Linked DNA regions of Homo sapiens: regions 2 and 3 are each linked to region 1. The links are contacts of gene promoters, found by promoter capture Hi-C in human tissues and cell types (Jung and others, 2019). All regions are on one chromosome and are shown on one strand. The core of a region is centred on a gene start or on the middle of the fragment in contact, and the rest is flanking DNA. Distances in the headings are between cores, read along the strand shown. Region 1 holds the start of NINJ2 (ninjurin 2). Region 2 overlaps ERC1 (ELKS/RAB6-interacting/CAST family member 1). Region 3 overlaps ERC1 (ELKS/RAB6-interacting/CAST family member 1).

Region 1 (3,395 bases), core at 486-2,985:
CCAAGGATCTTATAGAGGCAAGAACTAGAAGTAAGAAGAAAACACATACTAGGGACAGAAGACATGGACTGGAGGTCTTGGGCCAATTAGGTGACCTTATTCCTATCTCAGAGCCTCTCCAACTCATGGCTTCCTCAACTCATTCATTTAACAAATGTTTTCTAAAGCAATGACCGTGTACCAAGAGTTGCCTCATGCACTCGGGCTGCAGCAGTGAATAAAACAGGAGAGGCCCTGCCCTCAGAGATCTTGTGTCCTAGTGAGAGTGACAGGCAATACATACTAAATAAATAAGCAGTGTAACTTTAGGTGGTGAGCAGTGCTATGAAAGAAATTAAACAAATGATAAAGACAAATTGGGGAGGAGGCATCCTGTGAAGAGGTTGGTCAGGGGAGGGCTCCTGGGGGAAGTAACATTTGAGCTGAGACCTGAATGTACTAGGAAGGGCCAGCCAGGAGATAAGCCAGGGAAAGAAGGTTCCAGACAGAGGGACAAGCAAGCCTTGCGGTGGGACCGCTCTCGGGGCTGGCTGCCAATCCAGGAAAACAGCACTGGGTATGCAGTTGTACTAGGTGAATGGTTTTGACACAGCACACCAAGCAGTCCTACAGTTCCCTGGTGGTGTCTCAAGGGCGGAGGGGCCAAGGACAGAGACTCTGCCAGACTCACGCCACCCTGCCCAAAACACACACAGAGAACGAGAGAGAGAGAGAGAGAGAGAGACGCGTGCACATACTCTGCTTCAACAAAACAGCTCTTCTTTAATCCGAAGTGTATATTGGGTGGCTGCTTAAGATTTTGTTCGAGGACCAGGTTCAGGGATCAGAAATTCTTGATCTCAAAAGTCCTTTTCCACACTTTGTTTGATTCTCTGCAATGTTACACAGCCTCAGCAGTGGTCATAGAAGGGTTCGTTCTATTCTATCCATTGGCAAGGAGTCACAGAGTGCAGCTCCCAGCAATCTGGCTCTCCTCTCACCGTAACATCCCACCCTTTCCCCTCCAGCAGTGGACTGGAACCTCTGATGCCTTCCAAGCCCATCCCAGCTACAGAGGGACACACATCTCTGCCTCTTCCTAGGAGATTAGACTGATTTCCTTTCCTTGCACTGTCCAAATGAGACGCTTTCTGTCCTACACAGTAGAGCTTTGTGAAGACAGCCGAGAAACGGCTCAAGTTTTTTCCAACCTGTAAAATGCAAAGTTGGCCAGCTGCCTCTCTTCCTAGCCTCAAAACTCATATATTTCCTGTCTCCCCGGCAGCTCTAAGAGAAGTCTCTACTGTCCTGGGGTTTGGGGAAAGCACTGCTCAGAATGTGAAATCATTTTCTGGTAATACGGATCTAATTAGCTCTTTGACTGACAAGAGGAAGCAGAGGCCAAAAGGGAGTTAACCAATCTGTTTTTCAGATATTTCAAAACAAGTGAAGAACCAGATAGGGAAACAGAGAGAAAGAGAAAATAAAGAGACAAAGCCTAGGGAGCATTTGGAGAAGGGAGTGAGTAAGAAGAGAACGGGGAGGGAGAATATCAAGTGACTAAAGTATCAATCCTCTGTTCTTCCAGCTTCACCTCTACTCCCGGTCTCCCCTCTGCTCTCTTCCAGAGAGAACTTACTTGAAGGTCGATGTTTTCTCTTGCTGATTCCATCTCGCTGCCCTCAAGTCCCTTCACACGCACCGGGTGCCGGGAACAGACTGCGTGGGCTCCTCCAGGCTCCGCCGTCTGAGTCTCTGCTGCTTTCTTCGGGTGGGAGAGAGCACACAGCTGGCGGGACAGACCTGCCATTCATCCCTCTGATGTGGGATGCCCGTCTTGGCTGCAGCCTCTGGGGGAGGTGTGCACCTGCACACACGTGTGAGTGTATGTGTGTGCACATGTGTGTGCTCCAGGAGGTGGCACATGGCACACTGATAGGTGACCTTTTGAGTTGGTAGTGACAGCATCATTTTCACCAGTGGCTCCAGTGACCTTCCAGTCCCAGCGGAGCCATCTGAGGTCACCCAGCCTGCTTTGAGCTAGTAGCTTTATGACTGGCAAAGAAATCCTGCATGTTTATCAAGCAAATTGAAAAACAGCCTGAGGACAACGCTATCTGACTTCACCGCTGGGTCCAGTCCCCAGTCGCCACGGGTGGAGTGACCTCCAGCACAGTCTCAATACTGAGGCAGAGGGATTTCCGTTGTTCTTTGCTTTGTTCCCTATATCCCTAAAAGTTTTTAAAAAAATTGTAGTTTACCTAATAGGCTCCAAAGCATAGGCTTTGTTCTGCAAAGTGAGTGAACAATACGTTTTTACTGACGGATTGTTTGATTCCTTCAACTCCTCCCTTGATTAGCCATAGAGGGAGCAGGGAGTAGTTGTACCTTCGAAGCTTGTTTATGCAAACAGTGGTATTCTCCCTACTTTTAAAATAAAATTACCAGGAGGGAGTCTTTTTTTAGAAAGTTTTTTTTTTCCTCTCCTGTTTACCTTAGAGCCCAAAACTCTTCTGGCTTGTTCCTGAAGCAAGGTTTAGACACAAGCTTGTGCAGGTGTGGGTGTGGGTATGTCTGTAGACGTGCATGGCAGGGTGTTAACCTGTAATCCAATTCAGGGCTTGAAGAGGTGCGGGCAGGAGGAAGACAGGCAGAGTCAACACGTTTACCCTCACCACATTCAAATGTAAAAAAAAAAAAAGGCGATTTCTTCAGTTCTATGAAATGCCTTTATAAGTTCCCATCCCTCTGGACAGTGGTGCGAGGGAGGGTTGGATGATTGGATGGGGGCCATATTTTAGTCTAATCTATGAAGCATAGTTGGATTTAATCATTTAAATGGTAAACAGTCCACTTTAGACACAATGCTCAGTCTTTCGGATTTGCAGAAGATGGCACCTAGGTGCACAGGAGGGCGGGGTGGGGACGGTTCTTGCATCTATCCTGTGGCCTCTCCATCTCGGCTCCTTTCTGTTCTGGAGCTGCTGGGCCCACGGGCCCGCCCGAATTGCTGACTGCTGAGGAGACACAGGTCCTGCTCCTGGGTCTTCTGCTGGCCTTGGTGGCTGATGTCTGATATTAGGCCAGAGTCACTCATGGGTGATTCTCTTTCTGCCTTTGAGATCCAGTGTTCTCCCTTGCTGTCTGCGCTACCTTGGCTCGTGGCAATGTGGACCATCCTGAGACCTGGCTTTGACTTGTATGTGCCCCCATCCCACTGTATCCGCTCAGTGGCCCACATCTCTAAGATAAGCCCCTCGAAATTTTCCTGTGAGATGCTTGACCAGTGCTCCTGAGCCCCCTTAGGCACATGGGGACTGAGGGCTGCTGACGAAGGGCAGGGGAAAGGCAAGCTCAGCCCCACTTCCAGCAGAGTTTGCTCTGATGTGGCTGCTCCAACTGACACAGGGCAGTCT
Region 2 (3,395 bases), core at 263-2,762, 430 kb after region 1:
CCTTTATGATCCTTGCAGATAATGCAACCATTTTATTCAAAATGGGAGAGAAAACCATTCCACCGTTGAATCAAGGGAGTGACACAATCTGATTTGCTTTTAAAATTTACTCTGGTTGTGCTGAGAATAAATGGAGGAAGGAGAGAAGAGTGAACAAGGGAGTATAGTAAGGAATTTAACTGCTGTAATCTAGATTAGGGGAATGGGGACTTGAAATGATTGCTGGAGATGTACAGAATATCACTAGCGTATCAGGAAGCAGCACAAAGAATTATGGGCTGGCAATGCTAGGGTATCCAGAAATTTCATTAGTTATTGAATTATTGTCCATCTTTTAAAAAAAAGTGGCATTTAATCAATTCTTTTTTTTTTTTTTTGAGACGGAGTCTCGCTCTGTTGCCCAGGCTGGAGTGCAATGGTGCGATCTCGGCTCACTGCAACCTGCGCCCCCTGGGTTCAAGCGATTCTCCTGCTTCAGCCTCCCGAGTAGCTGGGATTACAGGCACCCATCACCAGGCCCAGCTAATTTTTCTGTTTTTAGTAGAGACGAGGTTTCACCATGTTGGTCAGGCTGGTCTTGAACTCCTGACCTCGTGATCCGCCCGCCTCGGCCTCCTAATATGCTGGGATTATAGGCGTGAGCCACCGCGCCCGGCCCACATTTAATCAATTCTAAAAGTCACAACTTTCCCTGTTTTAACAATGAAATTGAGTTAAGTGTTAACACTTGGTGTCATGTTAACAGTCTATATCAGCAAAGCAGCAGTCCTGGTATATTTGTTTGCCCGTGTATTCACAAATATAATCATGTCCATTCATTTTGTCATCATTTCAGCTGAGGTATGAGCATTGTTGGCATTTCCCATGTTAACTTTGTTGTTCAGTGTTTCTGCATAAATATTCTGTGAATCAGCATTGAAACAAAATTACCCGGTATGGAGAAAGTTATGAAAACAGTTTATGATGGTATGTGATTAAACTCTGTTTAAATAAGTTTAAAAAAACTAACTCTTGCAATCAGTATTAAGTAAAAATTCTAGGGCGGGTGCAATGGCTCACGTCTGTAATCCCAGCACTTTGGGAGGCCAAGGCGGGCGGATCGCCTGAGGCCAGGAGTTCGAGACCAGCCTGGGCAATATGGCAAAACCCTGTCTCTACTAAAAATACAAAAATTAGCTGAGTGTGGTGGTGCACGCCTGTAATCCCAGCTCTTTGTGAGGCTGGCACATGGTAATTGCTTCAACCCAGGAGGCGGAGGTTGCAGTGAGCCAGGATTGCACCACTGCACTCCAGCGTGCAGAGTGACACTCTGCCTCAAAAACAAACAAACAAAACCCTAAATTTATGATAAAGTTTTGTGTCATGATTTATTTGGAGGCATTTCCACTATTTCTTTTCAGCATGTACAACAGTGGTGTGTCTTATAATCAGTGGCATCTTAGATTTGATGAAATAAGATAGCATTAAAATGGCATTTGTAGCTATTAGTAGTAACATTTGTAATTAGTTTTACGTTTTCTTTATTAACATGATTTTGTAGCTGGCAGGTAAATAATTCTCCCCCCCAAAAGCCGAGAGGTAAAAAGTAAGATTTCAATGAAGCATTGTATTTTCTGTTTGTACTCAAATCACATTGTTGTTTGACCGCTTATTCTTAGCTTTTGTATTATTTCGCTGTAGCTCCTTTCATTTGACTGTTAGAAGAGTGGGGACATCTCTTGGACAAATGCTGAATTACAGGCAAGACTTGGTTAGTGCTGAGGGCTTGACAGGTGATTCTGTTATACACCAACATTTGAGGCCCCAACTTTGGTTTTCAGTCCGCTAGCAGAGGATACCTAAGTTGGCTGTGGAATTTTTGGGTCTTCAATCCATATGCATACCAAACATTGTCTATAGGCCAACTAAATAATATATTTCAGTATGTGCTCCTACTTACTTAAATGCTGGTATGCTATTGTGATTAATAAAATACAACTTTGTTTTAAAACATTATTGCAGCCTACTAGTTTTTTGTCTGTATTTTAATCAACAAACCGTATTAGTACAACTGCTATCGTGTTAGGTTTGCAAAAATCTTTGAGGTTAAAAGTGCTAATATTTGAATATGTTCTAGGCTAGGGAATTCTGAATCTAACTAGCATATCTGAGGACTGCTTGTCAGTTTGTCAGTATTACTGGCAGATAGAAGGTATAAGCAGAGGAGATTAAAGAAAAAAAGAAACATATATATATGTTTATGTGTATTTATTTATATATAAATATATATTTTTCTATATATAAATGTATATTTTTCTATATAAATATATATATTTTTCTATATATATATATATATATATATATATAGAAAAACATAGAAAATGAATAGGAATTTAAAAAGAAATTTTTTTTTTTTTTGAGACATAGTGTGGCTCTGTCGCCCAGGCTGGGGTGCAGTGGTGCAATCTCAGCTCACCGCAACCTCCGCGTCCCGGGTTCAAGCAATTCTTCTGCCTCGGCCTCCTGAGTAGCTGGGACTACAGGTGCCTGCCACCATGCCTGGCTAATTTTTGTATTTTTAATAGAGATGAGGTTTCACCTTGTTGGCCAGGCTGGTCTCAAACTCTTGACCTCAAGTGATCCTCCCGGCTCGGCCTCCCAAAGTGCTGGGACAACAGGCATGAGCCACCACACCCGGCCAAAAAAGAAAAAGAAATTCTTAGTTTGTCTTTTGTAGCAATTTTGGAAGATGAGAACAGTTGCATACCTTATTTATTTAAGTTATTCCTTCTCTCTCTTTTTTTTTTTTGGCAACAGAGTCTCGCTCTATCGCCCAGGCTGGAGTGCAGTGGTGCGATCTCAGCTCACCTCAACCTCCGCCACCTGGGTTCAAGTGATTCTCCTGCCTCAGCCTCCCAAATAGCTGGGATTACAGACGTGTGCCACCACACCTGGGCTAATTTTGTATTTTTAGTAGAAATGGGGTTTCACTGTATTGGTCAGGCTGGTCTCGAACTCCTGACCTCAAGTGATTCGCTGGTCTTGGCTTCCCAAATGCTAGGATTACGGACGTGAGCCACCGTGCCTGGCCCTTCCTCTCCTTTTTAAATTACATCATTTGTCCTTCATTTCCATTTTGACAAGGTGACATTTTCTGAGCACACTACTATTACCAGAGATGGTAATGGGTTCAGGTACAATGGTGTGTGACACTGGGCAAGTTAAGATACGAAAAAGTGGTAACAGTTCTTTCCATTTACCCTCCCTTCTTTTTTATTTCTGTCTCCGCTGTGTTGTCAGTATGATAAATTCAGAAATTGAATCTGTGAAGGGACTTCCCGAACAATGTGGAGCTTCTATCCTTGAACCAAGGGTGCTGAGGGCTAAGACTTGAAACTTGAAAAAAAATTTTCAGA
Region 3 (3,395 bases), core at 381-2,880, 400 kb after region 1:
TCTGCAAACAGGGACATTTGACTGCCTCTTTTGCAATCTGGATGCCCTTTATTTTTTTCTCTAGCCTAAGTGCTCTGGCTGGGACTTCCAGTACTATGTTGAGTAAGAATGGTGAAAAGTTGGCATACTTGTCTGGTTCTAGTTCTTAGAGGAAATGCATTCAGCTTTTCCCTATTAAGTGTGATGTTAGCTGTCACTTTGTCATATGTGGCCTTGATTATGTTGAGGTATGTTCCTTTATTGCCTAGTTTATTGAGAGTTTTTATCAGGAAGGTATGTTGAATTTTATCCAATGTTTTTTTCTGCATCTATTGAGATAATCATATGGATTTTGTCATTCATGCTGTTGATGTGCTATATTACATTTATCGTTTTGTGTATGTTGAACCATCCTTGCATCCCTGGGATAAATCCCACTTTGTCTTGGTGTATTGTCTTTTGAATGTGCTGTTGGATTTTGTTTGCTAGTATGTTGTTGAGGATTTTTGCATCTGTGTTCATCAGGGATATTGACCATAGTTTTTGTTGTTTCTGTACCCTTGTCTGGTTTTCGCATCAAGGTAATGCTGGCTGGCCCTATAGAGTAAGTTACAAAGAATTACCCCTCTTCAGCTTTTGGGAATAGTTTGAGAAGAATTGGTGTTAGTTCTTTAAAAGTTTTGTAGAATTTAGCATTAAAGCTATCTGATCCAGGGTTTCCTTTGTTGAGAGACTTTTTATTAAAATTGATTCAGTCTTGTTACTTGGTGTTGTTCTGTTCAGGTTTACTACTTGTATTAGTCTGTTTTCATGCTGGCTGATGAAGACATACTGAGACTGGAGAGAAAAAGAGGTTTAATTGGACTTATAGTTCCACATGGCTGGGGAGGCCTCAGAATCATGGTGGGAGGCAAAGGCCACTTCTTTTTTTTTTACTATTATACTTTAAGTTTTAGGGTACATGTGCACAATGTGCAGGTTAGTTACATATGTATACATGTGCCATGCTGGTGTGCTGCACCCATTAACTCGTCATTTAGCATTAGGTATATCTCCTAATGCTAACCCTCCCCCCTTCCCCCACCCCACAACAGTCCCCAGAGTGTGATGTTCCCCTTCCTGTGTCCATGTGTTCTCATTGTTCAATTCCCATCTATGAGTGAGAACATGCGGTGTTTGGTTTTTTGTCCTTGTGATAGTTTACTGAGAATGATGGTTTCCAGTTGCATCCATGTCCCTACAAAGGACATGAACTCATCATTTTTTACGGCTGCATAGTATTCCATGGTGTATATGAAAAGGCACTTCTTACATTGAGGCGGCAAGAGAAAAATGAGGAAGAAGCAAAAGCGGAAACCCCTGATAAACCCATCAGATCTCATGAGACTTATTCACTATCACAAGAATAGCATGGGAAAGACTGGCCCCATGATTCAGTTACCTTCCCTTGGGTCCTTCACATAACGTGGGAAATTTTTTTTTTTTTTTTTTTGAGACGGAGTCTCGCTTTGTTGCCCAGGCTGGAGTGCAGTGGTGCGATCTCGGCTCACTGCAAGCTCTGCCTCCTGGGTTCACGCCATTCTCCTGCCTCAGCCTCCTGAGTAGCTGGGACTACAGGTGCCCACCACCACGCCTGGCTAATTTTTTTTGCATTTTTAGTAGAACGAGGTTTCACCGTGTTAGCCAGGATGATCTCGATCTCCTGACCGCGTGATCCACCTGCCTCGGGCCCCCCAAAGTGCTGGGATTACAGGCGTGAGCCACCACGCCTGGCCACATGTGGGAATTCTTGGAGATACAATTCATGTTGAGATTTGGGTATAGTACACTATATCACTGCTTCTTCCTGGTCCGATCTTGGCAAGTTCTATATATCCAGGAATTTATCCATTCCTTCTAGGTTTTCCAATTTGTTGGTGTATAGTTGTTCATAATGGCGTCTAATGATTCTTTGTATTTCTGTGGTTTCCTTTTTCATTTCAGATTTTGTTTGAGTCTTCTCTCTTCTTAGTCTAGCTAATGGTTTGTGGATTTTGCTTATCTTTTCAAAAAACCAAGTTTCTGGCTGGGCGTAGTGGGCCATGCCTGTAATCCCAGCACACTGGTAGGCTGAGTCCGCAGATCACTTGAGCCCAGGAGTTCGAGATCAGCCTGGGCAAGATGGTGAAACCCTGTCTCTACTATAAAAAAAAAAAAAAAAAAGTTGCTGGGCGTGGTGGTGTATGCCAGTAATCACAGTTACTTGGGAGGCTGAGGCATGAGAATCACTTGAACCTGGGAGGCATAGGTTGCAGTGAGTTGAGATTGCACCACTGCACTCCAGCCGGGGTGACAGAGCAAGACCCTGTCTCAGAAACAGCAGCAACAACAACAAGAACAATCCCCAAAACAAGTTCTTGTTTCATTGATGTTTTATATGTGTCTCTCTCTAATTATCTAATCTAATTGAATCTCTCTCTCCCCCCCCATATCTCCATATCTCCATCTCTTGCTTTCTCTTTCTCTCTCTCTGGTTTCTATTTTGCTTATTTCTGCTCTGGTCTTTATTTCTTACACTAATTTTGAGTTTGGTTTGTTCTTGCCTTTCAGGTTCCTTGAGATGCATTGCTAGGTTGTTTATTTAAAATCTGTCTTCTTTTTTGATATAAGTATTTATTGCTGTAAACCCCCCTCTTTGTACTGCTTTTGCTGTTTCCCAGAGGTTTTGGTATGTTGTGTTTTTTTTTCTTCTTTTCTTCTTTTTTTTTTTTTTTTTTTGAGACGGAGTCTTGCTCTGTCACCCAGGCTGGAGTGCAGTGGCATGATCTCGGCTCACTGCAAGCTCTGCCTCCCGGGTTCACTCCCACCTCAGCCTCCCTAGTAGCTGGGACTACAGGCACCCACCAGCACGCCTGGCTAATTTTTTATATTTTTAGTAGAGACAGGGTTTCACCGTGTTAGCCAGGATGGTCTTGATCTCCAGACCTCGTGATCTGCCCGCCTCGGCCCCCGAAGTGCTGGGATTACAGGTGTGAGCCAATGCGCCCGGCCTTTTCTTTTCTTTTTTTGAAAATGAAGACGGGGTTTTGCCATGTTGCCCAGGCTGGTGTCGAACTCCTGAGCTCAAGCCATCTGCGTGCCTCAGTCTCCCAAAGTGCTGGGATTTCAGGCATGAGCCACCACACCTTGTCATTATGTTGTGTTTCTATTTCGGTTTTTTTTCCAACAAATCTTTTGAATTCCTTTTAAATTTCTCCATAGACCCAGTGGTTTTTCAGGTGTTTAGTTTCCAAAGTTCTTGTTTTTGATGTCTAGTTTTATCCCACTGTGGTCTGGGAAGATACTTGATATGATTTTAGTTTTACAAAATTTGTTGAGACTTGTTTCGTGGCCTAACATATGGTTTATCCTAGAGAATGTTCCATGTGCTGATGAGG

What was found. The method cuts DNA at HindIII sites, captures the fragments that hold promoters and counts their contacts. A contact is called where the count stands out against the background at its distance.
Region 2: a fragment that was not itself captured here is called in contact with the fragment with the promoter of NINJ2 in region 1 in 1 of the 25 tissues and cell types used here (spleen).
Region 3: a fragment that was not itself captured here is called in contact with the fragment with the promoter of NINJ2 in region 1 in 1 of the 25 tissues and cell types used here (dorsolateral prefrontal cortex).

The regions. Positions count from the first base shown.
Region 1 is chr12:661,710-665,104 of GRCh38, forward strand. NINJ2 (ninjurin 2) reads right to left here and starts at 1,736. Exons shown (of 4, transcript NM_016533.6): 1 at 1,619-1,736. The coding sequence starts at 1,651. The HindIII fragment of the contact is 21,671 bases long and covers 1-3,395 here.
Region 2 is chr12:1,091,640-1,095,034 of GRCh38, forward strand. All of the region lies in intron 3 of ERC1 (ELKS/RAB6-interacting/CAST family member 1), which reads left to right. Among named protein-coding and RNA genes, the nearest start is that of ERC1, 100 kb to the left of the region's middle. RefSeq lists an enhancer at 3,307-3,395. The HindIII fragment of the contact is 7,005 bases long and covers 1-3,395 here.
Region 3 is chr12:1,059,273-1,062,667 of GRCh38, forward strand. All of the region lies in intron 2 of ERC1 (ELKS/RAB6-interacting/CAST family member 1), which reads left to right. Among named protein-coding and RNA genes, the nearest start is that of ERC1, 70 kb to the left of the region's middle. The HindIII fragment of the contact is 8,518 bases long and covers 1-3,395 here.